Regions from separate parts of the Homo sapiens genome. Here region 1 is linked to region 2. The links are contacts of gene promoters, found by promoter capture Hi-C in blood cells and fetal thymus (Javierre and others, 2016). All regions are on one chromosome and are shown on one strand. The core of a region is centred on a gene start or on the middle of the fragment in contact, and the rest is flanking DNA. Distances in the headings are between cores, read along the strand shown. Region 1 has its middle 11 kb from the start of PIK3C2A. Region 2 holds the start of KCNJ11 (potassium inwardly rectifying channel subfamily J member 11).

What was found. The method cuts DNA at HindIII sites, captures the fragments that hold promoters and counts their contacts. A CHiCAGO score of 5 or more calls a contact.
Region 1: a fragment that was not itself captured here is called in contact with the fragment with the promoter of KCNJ11 in region 2 in 2 of 17 cell types (non-activated CD4 T cells and naive CD8 T cells); the score reaches 5.4 in non-activated CD4 T cells.

The regions. Positions count from the first base shown.
Region 1 is chr11:17,217,299-17,220,396 of GRCh38, reverse strand. No RefSeq gene overlaps it. Among named protein-coding and RNA genes, the nearest start is that of PIK3C2A, 11 kb to the right of the region's middle. The HindIII fragment of the contact is 6,380 bases long and covers 1-3,098 here.
Region 2 is chr11:17,387,409-17,390,425 of GRCh38, reverse strand. KCNJ11 (potassium inwardly rectifying channel subfamily J member 11) reads left to right here and starts at 1,767. Exons shown (of 1, transcript NM_000525.4): 1 at 1,767-3,017. The coding sequence starts at 2,335. RefSeq lists silencers at 687-786, 867-1,376 and an enhancer at 2,585-3,017. The HindIII fragment of the contact is 14,360 bases long and covers 1-3,017 here.

The DNA of each region.
Region 1 (3,098 bases), core at 410-2,909, 170 kb after region 2:
CACCACGCCTGGTCACTCATTGTCCTTTTTCAATCATCAGGCTTATGGGAAGGGGTGACCAGTTCACACCACTGAATCCCTCTTCCCAGTAATTCCTGGTCAATTCCCTGCATCTACTTCTTGTCCATACACCGGGTCACTACCGTATATCCAGAAACTGCTCCCAGGCTCGGTGGCAGGGAATAATAACCTGGGGGTATATAGATCTGTCTCCACCAAAACTCCCTTCCCCAAAGAAATCCATGGATGGAATTCAAGAGGCCTATGAACTTGAATGGGAAGGAAAAAATATCATGTCTTTATTTTCACTAATCTCAAATAGAAACTTAGCAATTCCTTCCCTTACTAATGTAGGCCACAAGTCATAGCAGTACTAGCTGTATCTGTGACTTTGTCACTAACAGATATCCCAGATATTTTTCTTTTTTTTAAATGGAGTCTCGCTCTGTGGCCCAGGCTGGAGTGCAGTGGTATGATCTCAGCTCACTGCAACCTCCCCGTCCTGGGTTCAAGCGATTCTCCTGCCTCAGCCTCCCAAGTAGCTGGGATTACAGGCATGCACCACCACACCTGGCTAATTTTTTATATTTTTGGTAGAGACAGGGTTTCACCATGTTGGCTAGGCTGGTCTCGAACTCATGACCTCAAGTGATCTGCCTGCCTCGGTCTCCCAAAGTGCTGGGATTACAGGTGTGAGCCACTGTGCCCGACCACATCCCAGATATTTCTATGTCACATTATTGCAGTTAAAACTATCTTGAAATATCATTTGTGTTCATACTGCTATGAAATTATGGTAGTCATTAGACTGCCATTAGATCTTTTTAATATATCAACAAAAAGCATGTATATTATATCCCACATGGTGATTTAATATTTTGAGAACTGTATTTCACTATAATAGGTTTCCAATTCTATTTTAGCTTTGTATGTAAAAACATTATTCTGAGTAGGGGGTCTATAGACTCCCTGACTACCAAAACGGTCCATGGCATAAAAAAGGAAAACCTCTGGAATTTGGACTTGATTGGATTTGACACTTAGCTCCAAACCCCCATGTATTTTTCCTTATTTACTCTCCTTTGTAGTCCCAAAGGACTAAAGTGGCGACAAACATTCAGACCCACTGACATGCATTCCCCAAGGCAGCATGGTAAGATGATTAAAAGCTCAGACATTGGAGTCAGCCTGCCCAGCTCTACCACTCATTAACCATGTGACCCAGGCAAGTTACTTAACCTCTCTGTACCTCATATCTGTTAAGTGGGAATTAGAATTGTCTCTCATAAGGTTGTTCTGAAGGTTAAATGAGTTAATTTATTAAATGTTGGTTGGGCACAGTGGCTCATGCCTATAATCCCAGCACTTTGGGAGGCTGAGGTGGGCGGATCACTTGAGCCCAGGAGTTCAGGACCAGCCTGGGCAACATGGCAAAACTCTGTCTCTACAAAAAATACAAATATTAGCTGGGTGTGCTGGTGCATACCTGTAGTCACAGATACTTGGGAGGCTGAGGTGGGAGGATCACTTGAGCCTGGGGAGGTCAAGCCTGCAGTGAGCTGTGATCATGCCACTGCACTTTAGCCTGGGGAACAGAGTGAGACCTTGTCTCAAAATAAAATAAAAATAAAATAAAGTAACATAACATAAAATATAAAATAAAATAAAATATCTAGCACATAGCAAGCTCTCAGCAAATGTTAGCTACTCTTCCAAGTACCTATCACCTGTTTCTTTATGATATTCTGGGGAGGGGAAGAGGAGGAGAGAAAAGAGTAGGTTGGCTATTCCTCTTGTGAGTCACAGCCTACACATCATACTTTAATGATGCACAAAATGGCCATCCTTTTTAAAGGCATATCAAAGAAACAGTTGATAGTTCTTTGAAATTTTTCTAACTTAATTTTAGGTTTTATATAGTAACTCACAACTGAATTTAAAAAATTATTCAGTGCAATACAAATGCTCCTCACCACTGGTTTACAAGGCAGGGCTTCCACTGAAATAATATTAGTCTTTCATAATTCATGCTCAGGCCAGGTGCAGTGGCTCATGCCTCCAATCCCAACACTTTGGGAGGCCAAGCGGGGAGGATTGCTTGAGCCCAGAGGTTCGAGACCAACCTGGGCAATATGGTGAGACCTTGTCTCTAAAAAAATTATTTTAATTAGCCCAGTGTGGTGGAGTGCACCCGTAGTCCCAGCTACTCAAGAGGCTGAGATGGGAGGATTGCTTGAGCCCAGGAAGTTGAGGCTGCAGTGAGATGTGATCATATCACTACACTCCAGCCTAGGTGACAGAGTGAGATTCTGTCTCAAAAAAAAAAAAAAAATCATGTGAATTTCTATACAAGAGGAAAGTCTTGGCTATGTTGTTTTAACTGAAGGGGAAAAGGTATTAAATATAAATGGAAGTAATTTCATTCATTCACTTAACAATTATTAGGCTCTCTGAGCCAAGCACTGCTCTAGATGCAAAGGAATTAATGGTGAACAAGACAAAGTCCCTGCTGTCATTGAGCTTACATTCTAGTGTGGGAAAATAAATACCTAAAATAAATAAATAAGAAAAGTATCAGGAGGTAGTCAGTGCTTCACAGAGCATTAAAATAAAGTCACGCTATATATATAGGGACGAGGTGAGTATTTTAGACTGGGTGGTCAGTGAAATTCTCAGGAGGTAACATTTAACCAGAGATATGAAGGACAAAAAGGAGCCAGTCACACTCAAAGGGACAGCATTTCAGGCAAGGGAATAGCTAGTGCAAAGTCATTAGAGCAGGAGTGAGCTTGCATATTCTTGGCTGTTTAGGAATGAAAGAAGGCTGCTGTTGCTGGAACAGTGGTCAAGGGGCAGAGCGATACAGGAGAGGTAAACTGGATCAGGTTTGTAAGGCTTTGGAAGCAAAGGGAAGGTTTATTCTAAGTGCAATGGAAAGCTACTAGTGAGTTCAACCAGTTGGTGAGGTGATCTGATTTACCTTTTATTATTATTCTTTTTTTTAAGAGACATGGTTTCCCTTTGTTGCCCAGGCTGGAGTGCAGTGGTCCAATCATAGCTCACTGCAGCCTCAAACACATGAGTGCAATGAATCCTCC
Region 2 (3,017 bases), core at 518-3,017:
CATCCTTTGTAGCGGTGTTCGCTCTGCCTGCAGGTGGGTAGGGAGAGAAAGGAAAATCCAATATAAAATGCATATCTTGCCCCCACTGTGGCCCACAGCCACACTGCCTTTTCCAGACCCTGTCTCAAGCCCCCACTCCAACAAAATGGCCGCAGATGGTCAGGGGTTCTTCCATAAGGATCTGAGCCACAGACAGCGGTAAAGCCGTTACTGTTCCAACAACAGAGATCTAGCAGGCTTTCCCTCCCAGCTGAGAACCCGGGTCCATGCCACAGGGCAGCCTCAGGCTGATGCCTGAACAGAAACACCACCATGCCGGGACCAAGAGCCTGGGTCCCCCAGTGCCCGAGGCAGCCCTAACACACTGTTCAGGCCTAAATACCACCCATGACCTAACGTGGAAGAAGTCAGGTGACAGGTGTGAGAAAGTGTAAAGCAAGTGGCCTCGGCTCAAACCTTCTTTAAAGTAGGGCCGGAATGGCTGAGAAGATGGAGCCGCCCAGGCTGCCCCACAGCAGTAGCAGGTGTTAAACTGTGCTCCTTTCCTGCCGAGGCCTTTTTTTTTTTTTTTTTTTTTTTTTTTTTTAATGAGAGGGAGTCTGAGCTTCCATCAGATTGTCAAAGGATTCAAGACTAAGATTAAGAGCATCCCCCAAAGAGAAGCAGCTGCAGGTTGAGAAGTCCTCGGACCGCCTAATTTCCGCCAGCCCTGGGATTGGTGGCGCCGCCTCTCAGCGCCTCCTTTCCCGGGGAACCTGCAAACCTGGCGCGGCCGAGAGGCGGATTACTGACCCAAATACGGATGGGGATATTGGGGGAGGGGAGCCAGGGCGACAGGGCGGCGGCCCCAGACTGGGAGGGCGGGTCACAGATCCCTCCCAGCCCCCCACTTTCGTAGAGCGTGGGCAGGAGGAACCTCTGGGTTCCGCGGATCAGAAAAACTCCAAAGGCCGGGTTGTGAGTCCCGGGAGGGGAGGTGGAGGGCGGGGGCGGGGAGGGGCGCGGGAGGGGCGGGGGCTTGCTCCGGCCCCGCCCCCTGCGCTCCGGTGCAGGTCGGGCTCCCCCTGGCGGTCCCCGGCCCCGTTCCTCTCCTCGTGCGCCCCCCTCCCGCCGTCCTAGACCCCTGCCTAGCCCAGGTCGGTCTCCGCGGACCCACGGACGGACAGACAGACGGGAGGACGGCCAGCCGCGAGCGCCCGGGCGGCGGGAGGGGGCGGGGAGGCGACGGCCGTGGCGTGAGGAGCAGGAGCAGGTGCAGCGGCGGCGGCGGGCGGGGCCGGGACCCGGCGCGGAGCGGGAGCCGCGGCGCGGGCGGGCGGCAGGGACCGGGAGGCCGCGACTCGGAGTCAGCCCCGCCGGGTCGCGCGCAGGTCCGGGGAGCCGCGGTTGAGCCGGGTGGGGTGGTGACTCCAGAGAACGCAGGATCCCAAGGAGACAGAGAGGACGAGAGCTGGAGGGGGATCCGGAAAGCGGCGGGGGCGCTCCGGGAGGGGTGGAGTAGGACATAGGGGGCGCACCTGGAGGAGAGACGGGGCGGGGGTGGCCAGGACCTGAGCTGGAGCCTGGGAGCCCGAAGGCCAGACAGGTGAGGCGGGAGACCCGGAGGTGGGGGTGAGGTCCGGTTAGTGGGAGAGATCCGGAGGTGTTAAGTTCTGAGCTGGGCTGGGAAGGCAGGCTGGGCGGGGAGAAGGGCTCTTAGCGGGAGGCCCAGGGGTGGTCAGCTGGTGGGGGAAGCTGGGGGAGGACGCAGGGCCAGGTGGAGAGCCGGCAGGGTTGGGGGCTCCCTAGGCGCCAGGCAGGTGGGCTCAAGGGTGAGGCTGTTTTTTTTGTTTTGTTTTTTGTTTTTGAGACGGAGTCTCGCTCTGTCGCCCAGGCTGGAGTGCAGTGGCGTGATCTTGGCTCACTGCAACCTCCGCCTCTCGGGTTCAAGCGATTCTCCTGCCTCAGCTTCCTGAGTAGCTGGGATTACAGGTGCGCACCACCATGCCCGGCTAACTTTTGTATTTTTAGTAGAGATGGGGTTTCACCATGTTGGTCAGGCTGGTCTCGAACTCCTGACCTAGTGATCTGCCCTCCTCAGCCTCCCAACGTACTGGGATTACAGGCGTGAGCCACCGCGCCCGGCCTGAGGCTGGTATTAAGAAGTGAAGTGGGACCCAGGTGGAGGTAAGGAAGAGTCTGGTGGGGAGTTATCTCAGAAGTGAGGCCAGCACAGGCTGAGTGCAGCCCCAGGGTGAGAAGGTGCCCACCGAGAGGACTCTGCAGTGAGGCCCTAGGCCACGTCCGAGGGGTGCCTCCGATGGGGGAAGCCCCTCCCTGGGGGTCACCGGAGCCATGCTGTCCCGCAAGGGCATCATCCCCGAGGAATACGTGCTGACACGCCTGGCAGAGGACCCTGCCAAGCCCAGGTACCGTGCCCGCCAGCGGAGGGCCCGCTTTGTGTCCAAGAAAGGCAACTGCAACGTGGCCCACAAGAACATCCGGGAGCAGGGCCGCTTCCTGCAGGACGTGTTCACCACGCTGGTGGACCTCAAGTGGCCACACACATTGCTCATCTTCACCATGTCCTTCCTGTGCAGCTGGCTGCTCTTCGCCATGGCCTGGTGGCTCATCGCCTTCGCCCACGGTGACCTGGCCCCCAGCGAGGGCACTGCTGAGCCCTGTGTCACCAGCATCCACTCCTTCTCGTCTGCCTTCCTTTTCTCCATTGAGGTCCAAGTGACTATTGGCTTTGGGGGGCGCATGGTGACTGAGGAGTGCCCACTGGCCATCCTGATCCTCATCGTGCAGAACATCGTGGGGCTCATGATCAACGCCATCATGCTTGGCTGCATCTTCATGAAGACTGCCCAAGCCCACCGCAGGGCTGAGACCCTCATCTTCAGCAAGCATGCGGTGATCGCCCTGCGCCACGGCCGCCTCTGCTTCATGCTACGTGTGGGTGACCTCCGCAAGAGCATGATCATCAGCGCCACCATCCACATGCAGGTGGTACGCAAGACCACCAGCCCCGAGGG